5 separate regions of the Homo sapiens genome follow, and regions 1, 2, 4 and 5 are each linked to region 3. Evidence: promoter capture Hi-C in 16 types of primary human blood cells and fetal thymus (Javierre and others, 2016). All regions are on one chromosome and are shown on one strand. Each heading gives the region's core, a stretch centred on a gene start or on the middle of the fragment in contact. The rest is flanking DNA. Distances are from core to core; before and after follow the strand shown.

What was found. The method cuts DNA at HindIII sites, captures the fragments that hold promoters and counts their contacts. A CHiCAGO score of 5 or more calls a contact.
Region 1: a contact is called between the fragment with the promoter of STPG2 here and the fragment with the promoter of PDLIM5 in region 3, in 5 of 17 cell types (fetal thymus, non-activated CD4 T cells, activated CD4 T cells and 2 more). The highest score is 9.7, in fetal thymus.
Region 2: a fragment that was not itself captured here is called in contact with the fragment with the promoter of PDLIM5 in region 3 in 3 of 17 cell types (naive CD8 T cells, non-activated CD4 T cells and activated CD4 T cells); the score reaches 8.7 in naive CD8 T cells.
Region 4: a contact is called between a fragment that was not itself captured here and the fragment with the promoter of PDLIM5 in region 3, in 1 of 17 cell types (non-activated CD4 T cells). The highest score is 6.5, in non-activated CD4 T cells.
Region 5: the fragment with the promoter of ADH5 here is called in contact with the fragment with the promoter of PDLIM5 in region 3 in 3 of 17 cell types (non-activated CD4 T cells, M0 macrophages and activated CD4 T cells); the score reaches 10.3 in non-activated CD4 T cells.

Annotation. Positions count from the first base shown.
Region 1 is chr4:98,142,213-98,144,912 of GRCh38, reverse strand. It overlaps STPG2 (sperm tail PG-rich repeat containing 2), which reads left to right and starts at 1,437. Exons shown (of 11, transcript NM_174952.3): 1 at 1,437-1,871. The coding sequence starts at 1,763. RefSeq lists an enhancer at 1,611-1,710. The HindIII fragment of the contact is 14,460 bases long and covers 1-2,700 here.
Region 2 is chr4:98,261,746-98,264,445 of GRCh38, reverse strand. All of the region lies in intron 1 of RAP1GDS1 (Rap1 GTPase-GDP dissociation stimulator 1), which reads right to left. Among named protein-coding and RNA genes, the nearest start is that of RAP1GDS1, 1.7 kb to the right of the region's middle. The HindIII fragment of the contact is 859 bases long and covers 891-1,749 here.
Region 3 is chr4:94,450,546-94,453,245 of GRCh38, reverse strand. It overlaps PDLIM5 (PDZ and LIM domain 5), which reads right to left and starts at 1,304. Exons shown (of 13, transcript NM_006457.5): 1 at 1,251-1,304. RefSeq lists silencers at 805-1,064, 1,235-1,654. The HindIII fragment of the contact is 3,776 bases long and covers 155-2,700 here.
Region 4 is chr4:98,664,062-98,666,761 of GRCh38, reverse strand. It overlaps TSPAN5-DT (TSPAN5 divergent transcript), which reads right to left. Exons shown (of 3, transcript NR_148380.1): 3 at 2,211-2,700. The region is part of intron 1 of LOC112267901 (a long non-coding RNA gene); the gene reads right to left. Among named protein-coding and RNA genes, the nearest start is that of TSPAN5-DT, 6.5 kb to the right of the region's middle. The HindIII fragment of the contact is 1,484 bases long and covers 558-2,041 here.
Region 5 is chr4:99,087,350-99,090,049 of GRCh38, reverse strand. ADH5 (alcohol dehydrogenase 5 (class III), chi polypeptide) reads left to right here and starts at 1,262. Exons shown (of 9, transcript NM_000671.4): 1 at 1,262-1,361. The coding sequence starts at 1,350. LOC100507053 (a long non-coding RNA gene) reads right to left here and starts at 1,193. Exons shown (of 10, transcript NR_037884.1): 1 at 766-1,193. RefSeq lists a silencer at 1,230-1,279 and a promoter at 64-1,317. The HindIII fragment of the contact is 7,789 bases long and covers 1-1,534 here.

The DNA of each region.
Region 1 (2,700 bases), core at 188-2,687, 3.7 Mb before region 3:
TCATAGTAAATATCTAGATCTTCTGAATGGGTATAGGTGGCAGCTTGGAAAATAAGGTTAAAACAACATTGAGAGAATTATGAGGGTTTCTGACAGAATGCAGGGAGAATCGAAGTTGGTGAGATGTTTCCAAAATATTGCAATATTCATTTTCCTACCATTAAAAAAAATCTTTGCCACCTCTCGTTTTGGATTATACGTCTCTTTCCCCATTAGAGAGAGAACACCTGAGGGCAGGGACTTTCTTATGCCTTTGTATCCTCATAACTTAGCAGGGATGGAACCTACAGTATATGCCAATTCGTGTTTTTTAAGTGCATAAATAATTTAGCTAGCTATTGAACAGAAAAAAAGGTACTACAGATACATCCTTGAGAAGCATATAGCCTCGCAAGGAGAGGGTTCCGACCTATATGGCACAATGAAGCCACAGTAAATGTTGCACAGGATTGAGTGGCAAATCGTGTATTACAGAGTATGAAAACTATAAAAACTTGTAGTAGGAACAAATTAACGTACTGTAGACCATTTGGAGGTGAGGTATGATCAAGGTAGGATTTGTCTAAGCCTCTGAGGATATTTATAATCTGGACAGAATTCTTGCTAGAAAAAACAGCCTGCGAGATGCAGAGGTGGATTCTGACATAGATTCCTTAAGCCCCAAGGACAAGCAAGGTTTCTTTTGCCCAAGGTTCAGAATCATTGGTTTGGTGGGGTGGACTGGGCTTTTTCAGTGCCTTCGCTTTGCTTTTTAAATATTGATGAATCAGTATTGTGGTTACCTGGCATACGACAAAAGAGGCAGCTTTCAGTCACTTCCACGGCTTCAGTTGGTGAGCTTTTCGCCTCCTTGCCTGGTGTCCTCATTTCTTTTTTTTTTTTTTTCTTTTTTACCCTTATCTTATTTGTTATTTTTTTTTCTGGGTTCTCCATTTCTTGTCACTGCCCTGAGCCCTGGGTTTGTCTTAGCAGTTTGGACTATCTACAGGTTAAGATCAGAGGTGCCTTTTCTCTGTGAGTACGAGTGGGGCTGCAGTAGAAGCGGGGGAGAGCTTGCGGAACCCCAAGCTCTCTGCTTCATGCTACTGCATTTTTCTTTACTAGGTTCTGTTGAGTCGGGAAGCAGATCAAGGTCAAGTTAGTCCTCACCCTTCCTAACGCGTTTTCTAAGGTTCTTCTGCATACTTAAAAAAGTTCGGGACCTAAGTAGTTACCGGGACCCCAAGAGCTACGAGGTTTAGGCCTGCCTTCTTCAAGGCGCGCCGGGTTCCGGGTAAAAAGAGCCGGGAAAGGGTGGCTGCTCGGTGCGCATGCTCCGAGGGCTCGGCCCAGGAAGGCACCTCCACTTCGCTCCCTAGAGACTGGGCCCGCCTCCTCCCCAGAGACTGGGCCCGCCTCCTCCCCAGGCTTCCGGGCGGAGAGAAGTGGGCGGAGTCAGGGCCGGAAGCACCGGGGCGAGCGTCTAATCCCTAATACCCAATTTTGGTGGCGTGCACCTGGCAAACTGATGATTGTGTGGGACGTCTAATCTCTAGTCGCTCACCCCTCTACTTTACCACAGAGCTAGAAATCGATTTGAGGAAATCTGGTATCAATGAGCGGGCGGGGAGACAACCCCACCCCTAATTTCCCTGTTTACGGAAGTTCTTTCCCGGCCTCCTCAGACTGGTGTCGGCTTCCTTTTTCTCCACACTTCTAGCTACCTTGTTTTTATCGTTTTCGGCACCTGCCCTTCCCCAGCGCCCCCACCACCCCGAGCACTATGTATGATCGGGCTCCCCGCCTGCTCAAATTGGCTGAAGGTGGCAGCACTGAGGCCCATGTGGGTCCTGGATCCTACCAGGTACCTTTCCTGAAGCAGCAGGCGACAGGTAAGATGTAGGAAGAGGCAGAGCTCCTGTGACAGGCATCCTATCTTCAGCCTGCTCCGCTTCTGCGTGCTTGTGAGTTAAACATAGAGCGGAATAGTACCATTTTGTAAACATAACAAAACATGAAGTAGGCAGGGAAAACACTATACTTTTATTTTACAGATGAGACTGATAGTATCACTTGTCCCATTTCAAAAGGCTGGTGAGCATATGGCTAGGACTTTTGATTCCGCAATAGTTGTCTACATCCTACTTTTGATTGTGCAGTTTAGGTCTAGGATTTTGATTTCCTGGCTGTGTTGACATAATATATGAGTCTCCAAATCCTGTGCCCTTACCTCCCGCTGTCTCGTTGCTTTGTAATCCTGCCTGCCTCACATCTTTCCTCCCATTAACCAGAGACATTTATTTATTAAGATGTAGCTTATATTTCTATTTTGCAGTATTATTTAAAGATAGTTCCGTTTTTTTTTCAGACAGATTTTTCTGACCGTCCTCATCTCTTTTAACACACTTCAGGGGAGCCCCTTTTCTCCACATTCTGTAAAGAAAAATTATATTTTTGACCAGTGGAGTGGGGATGGATAATTTAAATAATATTTGCTCTCCTCGTTTGTTTGCAGTTAGTGACTTAGTCAAAAATAAATACATCAATTTTGCTTTCTACTTTTTCTATTCTGGTGATTTTCTGGAGCTTAATACCGTCCAAATGATAGTTTTTCTTAACCTACATTTTCCCCATACCTACACTATGTATTTTCAAGCAAATGCCAGGATCCATTATTCTGTTACATAACTGATCAGATAAGGGAAGGTTTAGGTTTCTTGG
Region 2 (2,700 bases), core at 71-2,570, 3.8 Mb before region 3:
TCTTGTGTAGGAAATTATTGCCATGAGAATATATATATATATTTTTTTTGAGACAGAGTTTCCCTCTTGTTGCCCAGGCTGGAGTGCAATGGCATGATCTCGGCTCACTGCAAACTCCGCCTCCCGGGTTCAAGTGATTCTCCTGCCTCAGCCTCCCAAACAGCTGGGATTACAGGCGCCCGCCACCACACCCGGCTAATTGTTTTTTTGTATTTTTAGTAGAGACAGGGTTTTACCATGTTAGTCAGGCTGGTCTCCAACTCCTGACCTCAGGTGATCCGCCCGCCTCGGCCTCCCAAAGTGCGCGCCCGGCTGAGACTATCTTTAAAAATCAACCTTATTTATTTCTTGAGACAAATTAAAAAGCACTTCTCCCTCCCCTCATCATTAACCAGTATACCTTCTACCTTCTTATGTGTACATGAATTGTTATACTAACTTCCTTGGCCCAGATATAAAACTGTTCCCCAAGGTTTCAATTTTAAATTATCATATGTACCTACTGATCATACATGAAACTGCCTTACCATTGAAGAGAGTTTAGAAGGAAACAGATTGCCTGAGGTTGACTCAAAACCAACCTACAGTGTACTGGGAGGCATGGTACAATTATACCTTTCTGTTTCTGCTTATCCCCCAACTAGATAATATGTACCAACCCAAATGTTTGTTCAGATGAAGACTATATCTTCAGGTTCAAAAGTTGAAAATAATAGGTGGCTTTAAGTTCAACAATTTGCCAAAGATTTACTGAATTTCTATTTGAAAAGCACTGTGGGGAACACAAAAAATAATAAGACACTTTTCATCTTCTGGGACTCATGATTAAATGCACAGCACACACATAAACAACTTTATTATATGGTAGATTACGTAAGTGCTAAAAAGCTTCTAACAAGGTACAAACAGTGCTTATGAAGAGACAGATTAACCAAAGAGTATCAGAGATGGCTTCAAAATGAGAGATAGGTTTCTATTTGGCCCTTTTTAAAAATCAAGCAATAGCACTCAAGATTTTGAAGATTATTTTTAAGTAGATAATTTCTTTTAGGTATTTTTATTCACCAGTGTTGTAACGGAATTGGATTTTTTCCACTGAAAAAGTACGGATTTAACATGTAAGCTAAAATGTTAAATGGATTGTTTAAGGCTCACCTGGAAACATGGGAAAATATATTTTGCAAGCCAAACTTGAACTTACAGTCCAATATCAGATAGGGTTATTGGACATACTGTATATTTCCTTTGAACATACACACACTTATCTGTGTATGTATGTTCAAAGGAATTTTATTTCAAAGTGTATTTTATCTGTGTATGTTCAAAGGGAACACACATAAACGTGTGTATGTTCGACGGAAATATACAGCTTGTCCAATAATCTGATATAATACCTATTTAAAAATCTACTTTAAGAGAAAGGCAGACACGCATAAATGGGCCACCCAATTTTTACAGAAATTTGTTCAGCATATCGAGTACTCACGTTAAAAAGAAAAAACAACTGAAAATAAAATTCAGAGCCCTAGACCTTTTTTGATTCATACCACCTCCTCCGTCAACCCTGGCCTCTTCCAGATATATGGCCAAAGGTCGGGATCAAAGCCTGAAGCATTTGCTGTTCCAGAAAACTCTATGGACACCATTCCCAGGTTTAGATACTTCTTGAAGATTCTGAGTTGCACCACCTAACTCTGAACGTGTTGAGCACTGTATTAACAGATGAAAGGACCACATTCATCTCAAGCTTTAAATAACTCGCACAGAAGGGGTGGGAAAAGTCCCAGCTGACAGATGCCAAGGGAGCAAATTTTAAAAAGAGGAAATTATGACAGACAGGAGTGGAAGCAAACTGGGGAACTTAGTACAAGTCGCTACTATTAAAAGAAACTTTGAGCTCTTAATTACATGACAGCATTCATCAGACGTTTCTGTGATTACTGAATGTAACAGTTAAGCAATAGATGATGTAAAAAAATTAGGTCAAATGTATATATCGTTTTATAAAACATATTTGCTCTTAAATCTCTCATCCAAACCAATCTCTTCAGATTAACTATAAATACAAAGGAACTAAAATCAGATTATGCAGATTAGACAGGAGGAAGCTGGGAAAGAATAACTACCATGTAAGTTCGGTAACAACGTTACAGGGCGCAGTTTCCTGCTACAGAAGACGGACGAAGGAATCCAGAAAATAGGCTGGGCACGGGAATATTGCACACTGTAGTCACCCAGCACTAATTCAACAGCTAGCGGCTCTATCCTGCCTCACGTTCCTCGTGGCCTCTGACAAGTCATCCTTTCAACCTATGAGGCTGTCCGCTCTCCCCCTTGGAAAATAATTTCCGTGCAGGTTGTAAGATCTCCCTCACAAACTACTTGCTTCCACTTCCCCGCCCGGGATGAGGAGTCTCCACGACGGGGAAAGGTCGCACTGACAGAGAAGGAAGTTACACGAAGTGGTAGTGGTCGGACCCGAGCCTCGAGCTCAGTACACGCGGGGGAAAAGGAAGCGGGCGGCCTCTGGAGAAACGGGGATGGAGCTGCAGATGCGAGCCCGCGAGGCAGGCTCCGTGGTGCCCGGGCACCGGCAGGAAGAATGGAGGAGGGGAGGCGAGGCTGCGAGGTGCCGGGGAGCCGGGCGGCGGTCCGGCCCGCGGCCGACCCCACCCCAGCCCGCGCTCGGGACCCTCCCAG
Region 3 (2,700 bases), core at 55-2,554:
AGTGCCCAAGCCCTTCCTCAAATACCAAGCAGGCAGGAAATAGCAGCATACTCTTTCAAACACGTCGAAAAGGTTGGAATTTCTGTAGAGTTATGGATTTTCTTTTAGGGAAAGTCTAAACAATGTCTTTGCTCTAGTACTAGGGAAGGAAGCTTGGTATTTCCCACACTTGTATCTCAGCTTCATTAGTGGGTGAGAGGGGAGAAAGGAGAACTCAAGATGAACTACACAGAGTGACAAAAAAAAAGGCCTGAAATTAAAGAGAAATATCTTGAGATTCTCTTTCCCCGCAATGGAGAGAGAATGTAGGTAGAGCTGAAGAACTAAAGCCACAGGCACAGGATGAAAGCAGCCGACAGGACAGTTTTCCAGGAGGGATTCGCGCCTAGCCTTGTTGGCCAAATAAGGCTACCGAACGGGCCGTTTCCGTGGCAGGCGGGTTCAGACGTCCTCCCCGTCAGGAAGGCGGACTTGGGATAGGATCTGGCGATCACACCCTAAATCTGCCCTGCCCAGCGCCGCCACGAATTTTCCTTCCAAGCTCTGCCCTGTCCACACGCCCTTCCTTTTTCCACTTATTGTAAAACGCACCGAAGGCACAGTCTTACAAAAGCCCCAACAAGTACTCAAGTGTTAACAAATCTCGTGTTCATGACAAATGTGTTTCTTAAACGAGCTTTATTTCTGGACGCGCAGAAGTTTTCCCCAAACAGGTTACACAAAACTGTAAATATCTGGGGGAGAAATAAATGCTTCTCAGTAGCCTGGGAGCAAAGAAAAACTAACGCGCCTTTTCCTTTGAGTCCCGCTTCCTACCCTCCAAGAGACTGGCGCAGGACTGGGCACTCAGACACCACACCACGGTGGTGCCGGGCGACGCCGGCAGCCGGGTGGGTGGGAGCGGCAGTGCCCGTCCCTGCCGGCCCTCGCCACCTCCGGGCGCCCTCCCGCGTCCCCGTCTCCGCTACGCTGGTCCCGGTCGGCCCGGGCTGCGGGGACCCCAGGGCTCGCCCTCTGGCCTCATGCGGACTCCAGCGCTGCCCTTTTCCGGGCGCTCCTTTTCCCAAGCTGCTCTCCCACCTCCGCCGCTCCGCGCCCAGAAAGCACCTGAGGAGCCATCCCTGCCCGAGGAGCGCCCCCTCCTCGTCCCCAACCGGGCTTCCCTTCTCGCGTTCGGCGCACAGCGGCCGGTTCTTTCCCTTCTCCCACCGGAGATCCGAGAGGCGCATCGCCGGCCGGCCGCCACTCACCTCGGGTCCGGCGCGGCGCGGGGCTGCCTCCGCCTCAGACAAGGGCTGACAAGTGACTCGCGGTGAGGGCGCCGTCCCCACCGCCCGCGGGAACTTCCGCCTCCTGGCTCTCCCTCGCCCCACCCCCGACCCAGGACACGCCCCTCCGCTCCCGGCCACGCCTCTGGGCCAGTCCCAGCCGCGCCGCGCAGGGGCGGGGAAGGTGGCGGCGGCGCCGGGCGCTCGGGCTTGCTGGGGCTGGCTGAAGCAGCTGCGGAAAGACAACTGCGCTACCGAGTTTCGGTGGGAGTAGTCTTAGCGGATTTTGAGCGCTACCTGGCAAAGGTCTAACCCTCCGCTCGTCCGTTTTGTAGTGGGTGCATTTTTCTCTCCAGAAATTTAAATTGGCAAGCAGTTGCTCTGCCTAAAAATAGAAGGGTACTTTGGATAAATCTCTATCTATGCAAGTTCAGCGGTTACTGCCTGCGTTTTTTTTTTTGAAAGAGCTTTACATGCTCTGAAAAGTGCAGACCCAGAAGTTTACCTGTCAGGAAGGTGAAAACCAGTAACCCTAACAGAAGTTAACCCTGTCCATCACACCAGAAGACAGTGATACATAAAAGCGGCCAAAAGTGATTCAACCACTGTATCTTCAGTTTATTTTTCTAAATCCAAATCAATAGTCCACTTTCCAGCCTTCTATAGGGTTGCTTGATACGCCCGAGGAATTTATTCATAAGAAAACGTGAATAATGTTCACTGAACATACGGAAAGTAACTAGACTGTTACACTGTGAATTGGCTTATAAAACGTGAAAAGGACAATTCTTAACCAAGGAGCATATAAAGCAAGGATGAACTTCATGAGGTCCGTGAGCTCCCCGGCCCCCAGAAGTGCAAGCAAAATTCCAAAGGCGAAGATCCAAAGCTGCTCTTTCCCTAACGGTAGCCACTGGCCACATGTGGCTATCGAACAGTTGAAATGTGGCTACTGTAACTGAGACCATGAATTTTTTGTTTTACGTAATTTTAAATAATTTAACATTTAAAACTGAAGCAGGATAACATTTCTTTACTTTTTTTTTCTTTGAGACGGATTCTTGCTCTGTCTCCCAGGCTGGGATCAGTGGTGCAATCTCGGCTCACTGCAACCTCCACCTCCCGGGTTCAAGCGATTCCCCTGCCTCAGCCTCCTGAGTAGCTGGGATTACAGGCGTGCGCCACCACGCCCGGCTAATTTTTTGTATTTTTAGTAGAGATGGGGTTTCACCATGTTGGCCAGCCTGATCTCGAACTCCTGACCTCAGGTGACCAACCCGCCTCGGCCCCGCAAAGTGCTGGGATTACGGGCATGAGCCACCGCGCCAGGTCGTTAACATTTCTTTTAAGCACTACATTTAAGGACTAAAGTTGAAAATATAATGCCCAAATTGAAATGCGTTGGAAGTGTAAAATGCACACTGGATTTCGA
Region 4 (2,700 bases), core at 50-2,549, 4.2 Mb before region 3:
CTGCTGGTGGTTGGCCATCGGAGCTCCCTGGGGGGAGGGCCTACAGTATGACTCGTATATCACTCCTTGGGTGTTCAATACATGGCCCCTACAGCGGGAACAGCCAGGGAAGGAACTCTCCTCTGGGGGACATGTGTACTGTCTGTTTGGCCTATTATGAGCTCTCCTGTGACTTTGGCACAGATACAGGACTCAAAGGAACCATGGGGAGTTGAGGTGTGGTACCATCACCCAGAGCAAAAGCCCTTGGTGGCTGCATTGTTATCCAGGGATGAAAGATTAGCCTGTATTTTGCCTGAGGGATATGATTTACCTCTGTTAGTACCTGTACCTGCTCTGTCATTTCAACTGTAGGTTAACATGCTCTAACTGCATTTGGACTGGGCCCACACCTACGCTGAGGTGACCAAGTTTCCATCTGTTGGATCTGCACTGCCCTTCCAACAGCAGCTGCAGATGGCTTGCCTTGGCACATACATTCAGTATCTGCAGAGAACTGGACATGGCTGGAGACCTGGGGTCCCATGGCTGATGTCTGTGAGGCAACATGGCAAGCTTTGAAAAAGGATGCTGTAAGACCCACAGCACACCCGCCCCCTGGCTGGCCTGTAGTGTTTATGATGGGTGGGGCTGGCTAGCGGGGGAACATGCAGTACCCCAAGCCCAGGTACTGTGGTACATAGAGCCACATTGGGGCAACACCCCTGTGGGATGGGTACCCATCATGGCCTGTGCAAACATAATACATGTCACCACACTGAAGGTATGATGGAACGAGCGGCCTCACCAAGGTTGGGCCCCAATGGATTTTGTGTCCCCTGGGAGTTTATGGGTCTGTGGGGACACAGGGTGGCCTTAGCTACCAGTGAACTGGACTGGACATTGCACCTGGGGGTGGCCTTACCTGCCAATGTTCTCCCCAAGTTGCCCAGATAGCTCACTTAACTGGGAGGTGCTATGTTCTCGGTTTGTGCAAGTGCGACGAGTCCCCTGGTGGTTCTGCCTCTTGGCAGTGACTATCCCTGGAGTGGGTGTCATAACCGTAGAAGCACAAGTTACCACTCTTGCACAGCACACCACTTGGGCTCTGAATTACACTTGAGTGGCCCCCCTCCTGTTAACCAATGAGGTTGATCAGATTAGAAAGGTGGTATTGCAAAATCAAATAGCCTTAGACATAGAAACTGCTGCCCAAGGAGGCACCTGTGCACTTTTAGGAACACAATGTTGTACCTTTATTCCTGACAATCGGTAGAACATAACAGCAGCCCTGCAAGGGGTCTCATGGCAGATTAACGCAGTTGAGAGCCTTACTGATGATCCCCTGTGGAGATGGTGGGCATCCCTAGGCTCTGGCCTACACTGGGCCCTAATAGTCATAAGTGGCATAGCTGGGATCCTAGTAGTGAGGTGTTGCTTTCTGTATTGTTGTTGTGGGTTATGGATTCAGGGCTCTGCCCTATGGGCACATGTGCCTGCCTGGAGGATGCCCTAGGCCTAGGGGGTGGAGTGTAAGGGAAATGGCTGTGCTTTAGTCAGGAGTAGGCTGAGGCAGGCTTCCGGCACAGCATAACTCAATGGGTTTGGAGCGCAGGCGCATAGCTCCGCACATTATGTAACCAAGCCATGTGAGGCACATTAGGTGATCACCCATGTGAGCTTGTGCTGGGCTTGGAGCCACTACTGTCTGTAAAAGGTATAATTACCCTGCTAATGCTGTACATATGGCTTGCTCACACCCAAAGAGAGGGTAAAGCCATGTCAAAACTGTCTATGATTCCTTTAGTGTTTTTCCAGCTACCCACCACTCATCCACTGATTCCCGTTGGATCTCAATTAGAACCTGGCAGCTAGCTTATGGGAACTCGGACATCAGTTAGAACCTGACAGCTAGCTTATGGGACCAGAGGGAAGGCAGAAGAATCAGGAGGCTCCCAAAGGTCTCAAGGGCAGCTTCAGGCTTGTCCAGGGGCTGCAAGAAATGAACTCCAGGTGGCTTTTGGTCTCTTTCTTTGCTCTGCTCAGTATCAGGAAGTAAGCTTCTAATTGGCTGAACTTGTGTCATGTGCTTGGCCCCTGGTAAGGTAACATCAGGGCCTAATGCCTTGATCCACACAGGTCTAGCTATCTCCAAAGCAGCAGGAAGTTGAGGTGCCAGAAGAAGATGGAATGGCCGAATTAAAAAAAAAAATCAATTACTGCTCTGTCATATTGTGTGAAAGACATAATTCATTTTATTGTACAAATGATTATAATTGATTCTTAAAAGTGAAACAACTGTGCTCTACATATGCTTATTCAATCATATTTACGAGACAGATATGCCCCATTTTATGTTATTCCTGGGGATCTGAAAACTGGTCTTTAGTAGGTATGTGTGGGCACAGGGCAAGAGGGTCACAGTGGGCGGTAAATCCTGAGGAATCAGTTAATTGTTTTGTTAGAGAAATAGACCATTTAACTGCTCACTTTTCGACTAAGGAACAGAAGATACAATATTAATTCATTAACTATAACAAAAATATAGTTTAATTTTATATCATAGCTAACTAAAAAGTATTTTAAGTTGACCTCATTTCATAAAGGATTTGAGGTGAGAAGACCTTTTGTTTTAATCAGGGTTCTTTGATTTGAAAATTTGAGATACTCACTTCAAAGTATCTAAAGCCCAAATGGGATGTGATGAATGATTCCATCTAA
Region 5 (2,700 bases), core at 13-2,512, 4.6 Mb before region 3:
TATCCTAATGGAGACAGAAATCCAGTAGGCAGTTACATGTCCAAGTCTGGAGTTTAGGGGAGCCATCCTGATTGGAGATAATAATCTGGTAGTCATCTTTCCATAAATAGACGTTAAAAGCCAAAGTGTGAGTGAGAGAGTGGAGTGAAAGGACGGAAAGACTTTGGACAATCTTACCATATGTACCCGGAAAAGAGCCAAGAAAAAGACTGAAAGACAGAAAAGAGCAGTGTGTCTGACAGAGCTATTTTAACAAAATTCAGCGTTTACAACAGAGTTTAAGAGTAAACTGGCAGGCCAGGTGCGGTGGCTCATGCCCGTAATCCCAGCACTTTGGGAGGCTGAGGTGGGTGAATCACTTGAGGTTAGGAGTTCAAGACCAGACTGGCATACATGGTGAGACCAACCCCCTGCCCCCACTCCCAATCTCTACTAAAAATACAAAATTGAGCCAGCGTGGTGGCGTGTGCCTGTGATCCCAACTACTCAGGAGGCTGAGGCACGAGAATCACTTGAACCTAGGAGGCGGAGGTTGCAGTGACCCGAGATCGCGCCACTGCACTCCAGCCTGGGCGACAGTGCGAGACTCCGTCTCAAACAAACAAAGAAAGAGTAAACCGACAAATACTACATTCTCTCTCTCTACACTCTGGCCCACTCTTAACACAAAAAACTGTCCAGGATCAGGAGACTTTTTGTTCTCCTCATCTCCTCCTTCCAAAGTTCTCTGCCCACGTTCTACTGTCTCCCCAAAATCCTACCTACCCTTCAGGAACTGCTGGAATGGGAGCTTGGGAAGTTTCAGCAAACTCCTCTCTCCTCCTTTGTGGCCCCTTTATTCCCAAAGCTGTGTCCTCTCCCTATGACGAGTCCCTTGAGGGGCTGTATCTTACTCCTTGTGTCTCCAAGCACACATAATGTGTATTAGGGGAGGAAGCATTCGCCAGTGGAGCACAAAGCTGTTGCAGGTCTCTTACTGGTTCTCAGGCGCTTTCAGTGAAATTCCCGTTCCCTCACCGTCCACATCTGTAATTTGCAAGTCTTATCTACGATAACTGCTGTAAAGTTACACGGGGAAGCCCTTTCCCGACAAAAAAAACGAGTTCTGCAACAAGTCCGTCGGATTTTAGCAATGAAACCGGCGCCGTGCAGCCTCGCCGGCGAGTGCACCCTGGAACGCACAACTTAGCGGCACGCACCACAGCTCGAGCACCGCCCTTCCGGTTGGAGCCATTGCAAGCCCCCCCCACGCCCCGCCCCCCTCGCTAGGCGCTCGCCACGCCCATGCCTCCGTCGCTGCGCGGCCCACCCCGGATGTCAGCCCCCCGCGCCGACCAGAATCCGTGAACATGGCGAACGAGGTAGGGCCCGTTGAGCGGAGGGCCCTGAGTCCAAGGGAGGGAGTGCATGGCATGGGACTAGGCTGCTATCCTCGGGGGCGCGCGAGGCTCGGCGCCCAAGACGGGATCTGGCTCTTGGTTCTGAAACTGGGCCCCCAGCGAGCGGCTCAGAGGGGCAGAAAGAGAAGGAAGCTTTGTCTCGGCTCTTCAGTTGGGAAGCAGCTTTCTTTGCTGCTTCTGGGACAGTCGGAACGGGGTGGGGGGGTGGGAGAGCCGGAGAGTGGGGGGCAGGGGCTGGTCAGGTCGGTATCCCAGTGGAAATGGCTTAGGAGCGGCCACGCATTGCTTCTTACACGAAATTAAGTAACTCGCTCTGGGTCATTCTTGCAGCTTGCATACTTGGCAGAGCTGCAGCCAGATCCCGTGCTTCTAACTCCTAGGTTGCTTGTGTTGCATAATTGAGCCTACGCCTTAATTATTGTGCCTCCAAGGAGTGTATTTTGGAAAGACCCCTACGTCCCTTTCAGAAACATTTTCGAGCACTTAAATACCAAGAGATTTATATTCCCTCTAGTCCTCACGTAACAAACACCTCTGCGAGGTGTTATCCCCATCTTACCAAAAACTGAGGTTTGAGGTTGGTTGTGCTTGGTCACACCAACGATGGCGAGCTGGGATTCCGACCCAGGTCTGCTCCTCTATGACAAATTCATAAAATACAAATTAGACAGTAAAGAAAGGCAGAAATTACGAATAACATACTCAGTCTAAAGTTGCTGATTATTTTAATGTTTTGCAATTTTGGACATTTTCTAGTAAGACAAATGGCCTTAAACATATTGGAGTTTGAAAGAAATAAACTCTAAACAGTCTTTCAGACTTAAACTGGTAGTTGCTTTTCCTTATTACTGAGTGTCTTTATTCAGAGAAGGTGAAAGATTATAATTGTTACTATAGTTCAAATGTTGAAGTAGGGCCATTTCCCGCGGATTTAGAGTGGGGCTTTGTTTTGCTTAGAATTGTCAGTAAAAGGAAAAGGTTAGGCTCCATTAAGACATTTTTTAAAGGGGAGCAGGCCATCAAATTTAGTATTCTTGTTTCTTTGGATTCCTATGTTGCATAACTTAATTGTTAGTATTCTGAATCTGACTTGTGGAGTTGAAATTTATGGCACATTGAAATGAAAAAGGTTCTAATGCAGTGTCTGATTCTTTGTACTATGAGATTTAATATCTGCAATTTAATTTTAAAAACGATCATTTCCACATTTCCAACCTCACCAATTTACAGAGGCCATTTCCCTCCCCCCCCCCTCCCCCGCCAGTTCAGACGGAGTTTCGCTCTTTGTTTCCCAGGCTGG